Linked DNA regions of Homo sapiens: region 2 is linked to region 1. Evidence: promoter capture Hi-C in human tissues and cell types (Jung and others, 2019). All regions are on one chromosome and are shown on one strand. The core of a region is centred on a gene start or on the middle of the fragment in contact, and the rest is flanking DNA. Distances in the headings are between cores, read along the strand shown. Region 1 holds the start of LOC105376325 (a long non-coding RNA gene). Region 2 holds the start of SNAPC4 (small nuclear RNA activating complex polypeptide 4).

What was found. The method cuts DNA at HindIII sites, captures the fragments that hold promoters and counts their contacts. A contact is called where the count stands out against the background at its distance.
Region 2: the fragment with the promoter of SNAPC4 here is called in contact with a fragment that was not itself captured in region 1 in 1 of the 25 tissues and cell types used here (mesenchymal stem cells).

The regions. Positions count from the first base shown.
Region 1 is chr9:136,642,473-136,647,477 of GRCh38, forward strand. It overlaps LOC105376325 (a long non-coding RNA gene), which reads right to left and starts at 2,004. Exons shown (of 3, transcript XR_930446.4): 1 at 1,674-2,004; 2 at 1,272-1,549. LOC102724193 (a long non-coding RNA gene) reads left to right here and starts at 4,212. Exons shown (of 4, transcript XR_930443.3): 1 at 4,212-5,005. RefSeq lists a cis regulatory region at 1,851-4,560, silencers at 1,918-1,967, 2,238-2,367, 3,528-3,577, 4,188-4,377 and enhancers at 3,191-3,888, 3,889-4,585. The HindIII fragment of the contact is 7,707 bases long and covers 1-5,005 here.
Region 2 is chr9:136,397,012-136,401,558 of GRCh38, forward strand. It overlaps SNAPC4 (small nuclear RNA activating complex polypeptide 4), which reads right to left and starts at 3,159. Exons shown (of 24, transcript NM_003086.4): 1 at 3,123-3,159; 2 at 1,288-1,426; 3 at 1-12. The coding sequence starts at 1,417. RefSeq lists enhancers at 443-1,642, 3,372-4,308 and silencers at 2,817-2,926, 2,997-3,126, 3,197-3,406, 3,557-3,606. The HindIII fragment of the contact is 18,374 bases long and covers 1-4,547 here.

The DNA.
Region 1 (5,005 bases), core at 1,884-4,383:
CAGAAGATGAGGATCTCACTTTCCCGTCTCTCCTGGCCAGTGCATGCCCTTCTCCCCTCCCACCTTCAAACAGACGACGGATCCTGAATTCTTCACACGGATAGTCAGCACTTGCATTAATATAACTCTGTAATTGTTCACTCTTGAGCCAAGTACTATATGATAAATGCATTTCCTTTTTATAACTTTTTGTTTTTCCTGGAATTCAAAGTTGCTTCCTTTTTCACTTGCTTAGTTAGAATATTGGTTAAGTTACTGAGGCAAAGAACCAAAACAACAGGAATCTAAACATGATAGAGTTGGTTTCTCCCTCACATGAAAGTCCCGAGGCTGATGGGCTTCCCTGCCGCTCTCAACACGTGGCTGGCTCAGGACCAAAGGGGCTGCTCCACCTCTCACCATCTCCCTGCCTGCAGGAGGGAGGGAAGGGTCAACAAGAGAGTGACCCTGGCCAGGCACGGTAGCTCACACCTGTAATCCCAGCACTTTGGGAGGCCGAGGCAGGTGGATCACAAGGTCAGGTGTTCGAGACCAGCCTGGCCAATATGGTGAAACCCCAACTCTACTAAAAATACAAAAATTAGCTAGGTGTGGGGGCGGGCACCTGTAGTCCCAGCTACTTGGGAGGCTGAGGCAAGAGAATCACCTGAACTTGGGAGGTAGACCTTGCAGTGAGCTGAGATCACACCATTGCACTCCAGCCTGGGCAACCAGAGTGAAACTCTGTCTCAAAAAAAAAAAAAAGGAATAAAAGAAAAAGTAAATAAAAACCAACCACCTTCAATCTGATAATTCTGGGCAGAAAACTGAATATAGTTTGGACCAGATCTTCGAGAAAAATTCATATACACCAAATTAACTAGTTCTGTTAAAAGGCTGCTATAAAAATACACATCATCATGAGATATACAGAACTTTAGAATCCAGCTAAGAGTGGAGAAATACTGAATTTCTTAATTTATCTGGAGGGGGCTGTAAATCCAAAGGTAGAAGGGCATTTCAGCGTTCTGGCGTGTTCTGAGATTCTAGGGTATAGTATCTCCCATACACACAGAGGGCATTTTGAAGGTGGCTACGGCCAGGACACCTCGGGTGGGTTCTCCTGGAGAATGACCCTTTCTTTTAATGGGAAGATCCGGAAGTGACACCTCCCACTCCTGCTCTGGTCCCATTGACCAGAACTTGGTCACAGGCTAAGTTAGAGTCTGCAAGGAGGCTGGGAGACGTGGTCTTTAGCTGGACAGCCTTGAGCCCGGTGAAACCCCTTTTACCGTGAAATGGGAGGGCACAGCTTGGGTGACGATCAGAGGTCGCCGCGGCACGGGTGGTCCTCACCCAAGCTCTCCCACGGAGCCGCAAGGCTCGTCCCCGTGTTCTCACACGCATCAGGTCATCACTCCTTTCCATTTCTTTTCTTGAAGGCATCTCCTGGCCTCCTGGAGACTTTGCCCCACCCGTCTCCTCTGGACTGGCCACTCTGGTCACTCTGACAGCCTCCCTTCAGCTGTGACGCTGCCACTTCTTCTTTCAGTCATCACGGGAATGCCCCCTGTGGGTTTTCCACATTTGAATCCCAGAGATTCGGCAGCCGGCCCCTCCCCAGAAGATCGCGGGGACCTACTGCCCCTGCAGAATCCCTTGGCCTGCCCCAAAGCCGGCAAGCAAACCCTCACCCCAAAGCGTCTGGCATTCCCTGGTCACCTCAGGACAGCCCAGCCTGCCATCCTCCCCGATATGCAGGCCGTGCCGCCGTGTGACTCGCAGGATTCAGGAGTCAGGGGGCCAGAGTCGGCAGCCAGGCTTTCCCTGGAGGCTGTGCCCAGAGCTCCTCAGAGTGTGAAATGTGGTGACAGCGGTGCCCGCTGGCTGCTTGCAGGATCCTGGCAGTGACCCGCGGGCAGGGCCCCCCCGGACGGCCCCCTGCGGAGGGCGCAGCCTTGCAGGTGGGGTCGGAGCACAGGGTCCCAGGGTCCCAGGCCCCACTTCCCAACCAAGCCAGGTCCTCTCTCCGCCCCTCTCCTCGAATCTTAAGAGCCTTTGGAGAGAAGCCACGCAGGGCGGGACGCACAGGCTGTCAGGGTGGGAGGGGTGCGTGTCCCACGTGCAGGGAGCCCCGCCCAAGGCTGGCAGCAGCAGGGTAGAGGCCACTGGTCCGGGGCAGCTTCCGCGGGGAAACACCGCCGCGCTGTGAGCATTGGGGGAACTGCAGCCGCCGCCCCATCTGCCGGCTGCGGGTCGTTGGGGGGGCCCCATGCCAACGGCCACGGAGGCCAAGGACCCCCGGAACCCCTCGGCCTTTGTCCCAGGAGAGGCTCCTCACACCCTCGGTGCCAGGGCCCTGGGAGCCCGTGAGACCAGGGTTCTCCCTGCTCAGACTCTTCCTGTGGCCTGGAGGGGACAGTGGGGGTGACAGGCACTGACCACCAGGCAGGCAGCAGCCAGGCAGAGCCTGGGGTGTGAGGACACAGAGGTGACCAGGTGCTGAGCCCCTCCCTGATGAGCTCAGCACGGAGGTGGGAGCCCCTGACCCTTTCCCAGGGCTCTGAGTCAGCCTTGGAGAGTGTGGCGTTGAGCCTGGCCAGAGGTCAGCAGATGGCGGGCGGCTGGCGCTGGGGCCCCGGCTCTGCAGAAGGGTCAGGCCCCAGCACACCCGGGCATTTCCTGTGCAGCCCCAGATGGGTGAGGTCAGCTGAGAAGGGGAGAGGCCACAGGGGACTTCCTCTATCCTCTCAAATTAGCGGAGGCAGGGCCCCGGGCCGGGCCAGGGCCTAGGGCGGACGTGCTCTGGATATGGCAGCCTCTCCTCTCCCACCCCCCAAGGAAGCGCCACTCAGCTACAGCCCCAGCCCCAGTTGATGGGTGGGAAACTGAGGCACAGCCAGATCCACAGATGACAATGGGCCCGGTCGGCGACTGCAGGTGGCCCTGCGCTCTCTGGCCTGCAGGTCACAGGCTCCAGCCACGGCCAACAGAAAAAGACTCTCACGGCCTGGCTCACCCACTGTCAGTCAGGGACGCAAAGGTCCCTCTCACAGCAGGGCCACGACCTGAATCTAGCCACTGGGCTCAGGATGCCTCCCCGGGAGGCAAGCGAGAGCCCTGTCACCACGGAACAGGTTAGAGGGGCACAAGCCTCTGTGGGCCTCTCCCACGCCCCCCACCCCCCACCCCCCGTGCTTCTGCAGAAGTGGGGGCCTGCAGGGGCTCTGGTGCCTTCCCACAGCAGGTGTCATCAGGGCAGGAACACAGTCCCCACCGCCTACCCATGGGTTTCACGTGCTGGGGGCAGTCATCACCCCAACCTCAAGAAGCCAAGAGGACTGGATGTGGCCCCAGCACCCCACCAGCAGCCATGTCCTCCCAGGGAGGGAGCATGACTTACGCCTGGGGCAGAATAGGCTGCAGGGCCTGCTGGGAAGCCGTTCCCGGACCCCAGCTCAGTCCTCCGGCAGATTCACTCAGAGGAAGGTAGCACTGGTGACCTGGCCGGTGCTAGGCCCCCAAGCCCGCCCGCCAGCGTTCTTCAAGTCTGCACGTCCGAGGGCGGGAGGGAGCATGGACCCTGTCAGCCCCACCCTGACTGGGGTGGCCCCATATCCACCAGAGGGCAGCTGGGCCCAGTCCGGGCCATCCCCTTCGGGAGCCAGCACAGCAGGAGGGCCCCTTGTCAGCCAGAGCCTGGGTGGACGGCAGAGCCCCCGGGGCCGCCTCTGGACTGAGTTTGTGCCTCACCTAGCTGGGGCCTGACCTCGAGAGGTCACTGTTGCCCTGGGCCTCAGTTTCCCCATCCAACAGGTGGGGAGAGCGTTAGCACCCACATCACGGCGGCCCCACAGATCAGTGCAGCGTGAAGTACTCAGCTAACCCTCCAGACCCCGGAGGCTGGGCCTCCCACCCCGCTGCCCCTGACCCATCCTGCACATCTGCCCCCACCTGGCTCCGCTCGCTCCCCTTGCTCCCCTCAGCCTCCCGTCCCGCTGGGTGGGGGCCTCCAGCGCCTCCGCCTCCGCCTCCGGGCTTCCAGGCAGGAAGGCGGCGGAGAGGAGCGTTTCCGCGCAGGCTGCTGTGCTGGGAGTGCAGCCTGTGATAAGGACACACATGGCCGGCTGCACGTCCGCCTTTTGTCCCTGGCTCCCGCCAGCCCTTCCTGCTCCGGCCTGCAGGGTGGGGACTATGGGCCCGGCTGCAGCCCTCCCCCGACCCCCACCTCCACTCTGCCCCTGGCTCCACAGCCCCTGGGGTCCTGGCTGCCCTGGGGGAGTTTGAGGCCCCCAGTAGCAGCTACGGCTGGGGCCCCGGACAAACTGGGGGTGTAGGAGCTCTAGGAAATCAACCCCAGGGAGGCTGCTACGGCTAAACAGAAGCATCAGCCCCAACCCAGCAGGGCCAGATGTTCTGCTCTCCCTCCCCCAGTTTCGGCTGCCGGGAGGGTCCCCACCGAGAGTCCCCCCCGACTCCTGCACAGGCCTAGCCACAGGCTCCCTCCCGGGCTGGACCGACCACTCTCCTGCTTGAGGTCCCAGAGAGGCGCTGGCCTGGCCCGGCCCATGTGCCCCACAAACACCCCTGGCTGCTCCTCCGGCATCTGTCTTAAAGTGCCAGCCCAGCGTGAGCCCCGCATCAGCTACCGAGAGGTATCCATCCTTACCCCCGACTGCCCATGGTGCCTACGCGGCAACCTCACAACCGGTCTGCTGAGCTGGGTGGAGGAGAGGTTCCACCCACCCCAGAAGGAGTCCACTCCCATCCCCTAAACTCCAGGAGCTGCCCTTGGCTGAGGAAGGACTGCAGAGGGCACGGGGCAGGCTGAGCCCAGGGTGGCAGGGGCTGCATGGTGCCCGGGATGCCTGGCAGGAGAGAGACCCGCAGCCCAGAAGGCTTCCTCTCCAGGACTGGGGGCCCCTCAGTGCTCACACTTCCCACTAACTGCCAGCATCCCCTACAACATGGCCCACGTCTCAAGGGATTGGAAGGAGCCCCCGCAGAGGCCATCGGCACGGACTAG
Region 2 (4,547 bases), core at 1,909-4,408, 250 kb before region 1:
AAGGCAGTGAATCTGTCAGAAACACAAGCAACACCGTGTTGGTAACCAGCGTCTTGGGCAGGGTGGGGGCGCAGCTCACCACTGCTTCTTGGGCAGACCTGGGGTTGTGAGGTAGTGACAGCGCCTCAGGCTGAGGCTGGCGGTGAGCGGACCTTCCCTCCCTGACAGCGGGGTGGGCACTGGACCAAGGCCGGGTTAGCCAGATAGAGAAAACTCTGACCACACACTGGGGACCTCCAGGCACACAGGACAAAGCTACACAGGGTTCACTGGATGGCACAAGCTATCTTTACTGGAGAGACAGGGAAAGTTTAGCAGAAAACGGACCTCTCCTTCAGGAGCTTAGCCGGTCAGATGGGAGGCACGGATGTAGAGGCCCTCACCACAGGAGAAAGATAGCAGGTTGCCTCAGAGGCAGGCCCTGGGTCTGGGAGAGGTGGGAAGCAAGGCTGGGGGGGTCTCCTGTCAGGGCAGCAGCTGGTGGGGTTGGGGTAGGCTCAGAAGCTAAAGGGAGCATGGAGGAGAGCATGTGGGGAGGGGAGCATGTTGGGAGGAGAGGCTGTGGGGTGGGGAGCCTATGGGGTGGGGAGCACATGGGGAGGGGAGCACGTGGGGTGGGGAGCACGTGGGGAGGGGAGCACGTGGGGAGGGGAGCACGTGGGGAGGGGAGCACGTGGGGTGGGGAGCACGTGGGGTGGGGAGCACGTGGGGAGGAGAGCACTTGGGGTGGGGAGCACGTGGGGAGGGGCACATGTGAGAAGAAGAGATCCTAGGGGTGTGAGCTGTGTTGACCATCCAGGCATGGACTGTCCAGACTGCCATCTGGTGAGGTTCAGGCCTGCCCCCTCCTCCCAGGATGGTCCACTCCAGAAGCCCTGCACAGGCCCAAGGAGGCCAGGCCCAGACCCTGGGATGCCTAGAGCCCAGTGTACACACACAGCCAGCTGGTTCAGGGGCTAGCAAAGGAGGAATTGTCAGAAGCTCTCTGGCTGGAGTACAGAAAGACACCAGTGTTGGCAAAAAATTGGGTCTGGTCCAAGCAGCACCAGCCATCGTTTATTATTATTATTATTATTTTTAGAGACAGGGTCTTGCTGCGTTGTCCAGGCTGGACATGAACTCCTGGGATCAAACAATGCTCTCACCTCAGCCTCAGGAGTCCCTGGGTTTACAGGCCTGAGAAACCACACCCGGCTACCATCACTCCCTAATGTGCCTGAGAGGAACCCAGGAGGCAGACCAGCTGTTCTTACCAGGACCCCAGGAGGCTAGGTACAAGGGGCTTACCTGCTTCAGAATCTGACTCGAGACTTGATTCTGAGATCTCCACGTGGGAGCCCGAGGAGCCGGGATCCAAAATCCTTTCCAGCTCCTTGATCTCCTGTGTTATCTTCTCTCTTTCAGCATCTACATCCATGACTCCCGCCTGCCTCCAAAACACACCCCGAGATGTTAGAAACCAAGACCGTGCCGGGATCCCATTCTCCTTCAGACACACCCGCCCATGGGGGATGGCAGGAGCCTGCTCGGCAGTGGGCACTGGGCTCCCCAGAGAAAGATTAATAGGCCAGGCACAGAATCGGGGAACCCTGGGACAGGAACCTCAGACCCCACAAACTCCTGCTATGTGCTCTGCCAGGAGCCTAAGCCCCAAGAACATCTCCCGCCTGCTCTGAGGCTGCAACCAGCACAGGCAGGGAGTGGATGAACAAGGACAGGCCCCACTGTCCCGTCTCTGCTCCCACACCAAGCCACATGGAAACTGGCCACCCAGCGTAGAAGGTGTGGGGTGCAGTGGCAAAGTCACTACAGGGCAAGGACACAGCCCGTGACCCACTTTGGCCATCCTGCTCTCCCATGACACAGAGCCGGACCACAGAGGGCATTTGAGAAACGTTCACAGAGACACACACTGAGACTGCCCAGGTGGCAGGCACTAACAGCATGGTTGGGAAGGAAGCTCCCAAAGGGAAGGCTGGCTGTTCTCTGTACATCCAGAACAACGCCTGGAACGTGGCAGTGCCTGACACTAACAAATGTTTGTCAAGCTTTTTTCTTAGGAACTGTGGTCCAGGAAGTCTGAAGGGAGAAGGACGCTAGAGAGAGAGTGGGAGAATGAAACATTAGCAGAGAAAATCTAAAGGAATCACTAGCACAGACCCGGGAGCCCAAAACACCCAACAACAAAGAGAAACGCCCTCCCCCGTCCTTGGCGTGGCTCTCCCTGCTGGAGGCTGACTGGGGCCCTGCCCAACTGGAACAAAACCAAAGCATCCACCCGCGAGCACCGTTAGCCGCATCAGCAGCCCAGGTCCCCTCACTCCTTCACAAAGCCCCTTGTTTATGCCCGAAATGCTTGTGAACCTGTAAACTCAGTTAACAGCCGGCCAGAGGCAGAGCTGGCAGCGACCGCAGGCTGGTTCAGCGCCTCCGGGCCGGCGGAGACGCTTTCCTCTGGAAGCCTCACACGAGGCTGCTGCCTCCCCCTCCCCGTGTCGCTCAGGTGAGCAATGATCAGCAGGAAGGAGGTCAAAGTCACACGTGCTGAGCCACTGACATCAGGGGCTGTCCCTCTCCCCGCACCCCTCTCCCAAGGGCTGGTCATGAGGGCTGCCCACCAAGACGGAGCGCAGCAGGCGGTCCCTCCAGCCCCAGCTGCGGGGACGCCACCCAGACTCGGCTGGGCCCAGGGAACCCCAGGATGCGCCAGGACGATGGGCGTTTAGGCACTGGCTTGGGAGACAGACCCGGCCCAGGCCCAGTTCCGCCTCCTGCTCGCTGCGTGAACTGGGGAAACCCCCTCCGAGGCTCGGCCACCGCGGAATCGCCGGCGCAGTCCCCGAGACGCACGCGGGCGCCCTGCAGCCGGGGCCGCCCCGCCGGAGCCTCCTCGGAGCCCGCAGCCCGCTCCCAGCCGAGGGGCTCCCAGGGCCAGAATCCCCGCGCGCCCAGGCTCGGCCGGACGGGGGCCACGCCGGGCCTCAGTTTCCCCGACTTTGGGCGCTGCCCCGCCCCCGTCCCGGGCCTCGGCTATCCGCTCCTCGGGACAGCGCCCCCTCCACGGGGAGAGCCCTGAAGCTGCCGACGCCACCCGCGCCTCACCTGCTGGGCGCACACCTTACCTGGCCGCGCGGACCCCGCCGTCGCCCGGGCGACTGCAGACTCGACGCTTCCGGCGGCTGCAGAACAAGAGCGCCGCGCGCCGGAAGTCCCGCCTCCTGAGGCGCGGGGCACGCCGGGACGGCCGCTGCGGCCTGCCGGGACTAGAGAGGCGAACGGCTCGATGCTGCCCTCGCGCGGCCGCCCTGGGGGCCGCCTCCGCGCGCTCTGGAGGGGCGCGGGTGGACGCGGGACCTCAAGGCAGGGGACAGACAGGGACAGGCACCCGGCCACCTGGTCACGATCCGGAAGACCGGCCCTTACTGGCTGTGACCTTCGGCCATCGCTGGACCTCTCTGTGCTTGTTTCATCCTCTGTTAACGGACATGTTGGGGTTTGGTTAAGCAACGGATGAGAAAGTCTACGTGAAAGGCTTTTTCCCCAGCCTGCCCTGCATGCTCAGGATCGCCGAGGCCAGGCCGATCTCCAGGCACGTGCAGGAGACTGAGGCCAGAGGGTGGGGGCCCGCACCACACAAACTCGCTTCCCTGGTCACCTGTGCACACCCTCTGGGGTCTCCTGGCCTGGAGAGCTGCCCCGGGGCCCTCCCCTAAGTGGGCATTCATTCCTTCAGGAACGTGCCAGGGCTAACTCGGCCGGGAGCTGGGCAGGGGCCTACAGTTCCTGGCTCCTGAGAGCTTCTAAGTATCGGTGCTGCAAAGACATCCTGGGCCCAGCCAGTTGAGGGGGCCTCCACTCCAGCCTGGGGTGAGCTAGGGGCATCAGCTGGAGAACTATAAAGAGGGTTTGCCCTGCCTACCTAGGAGGTGGGCTTTTGGTGGCAAAGGGCTAGGCCCAGGTGAGGCCAAACTGGGAGCTAGGGATTGGCAAGAAACAGATGGAGGGGATGGAACCAGGCGGCTGGGGGCTCCTCGAGCGCCTCGTTTCAGTCCCTGCATCGGGCTTGAAATCTGGAGGCAGAAGGCAGGCACTAAATACCGCGCCACAAATTGTATTTTTAAACTTCTTACTATCAAACGCTTCAAACACAGACATCAAAAGAGAGGGGTGCGCAAAACCCACATGCCCATCCCCACCGCGCTTCCCTGGGCCCCACCTGCTCCATGAGCTGCTGGCATGAGGGCCAGGGGACCACCCCACTTCACACGCATCTGGTGGATGGGACCCGCCTGGCGATCTGGCCTTTGTGACCCCCACCCCATCAAATGCTGTCTCTCCCAAAGGGCCTCAGGGAAGGCCTGTGGCCTGAGGCATCCTCCCCAGATGCCCCCATCCTGCTGCTACAGGGCTCCCAGAGCTGCCTATACACTCAGAACCTCATTCCGGCACTTCCCAACCACAGCACCCTGTCTCAAGTCAGCTCTGCCAACAGAATCCAGAGCCTGCTTTCACCAACCAGCAGGAGCAGGAGGCGCATAGGGCTACGC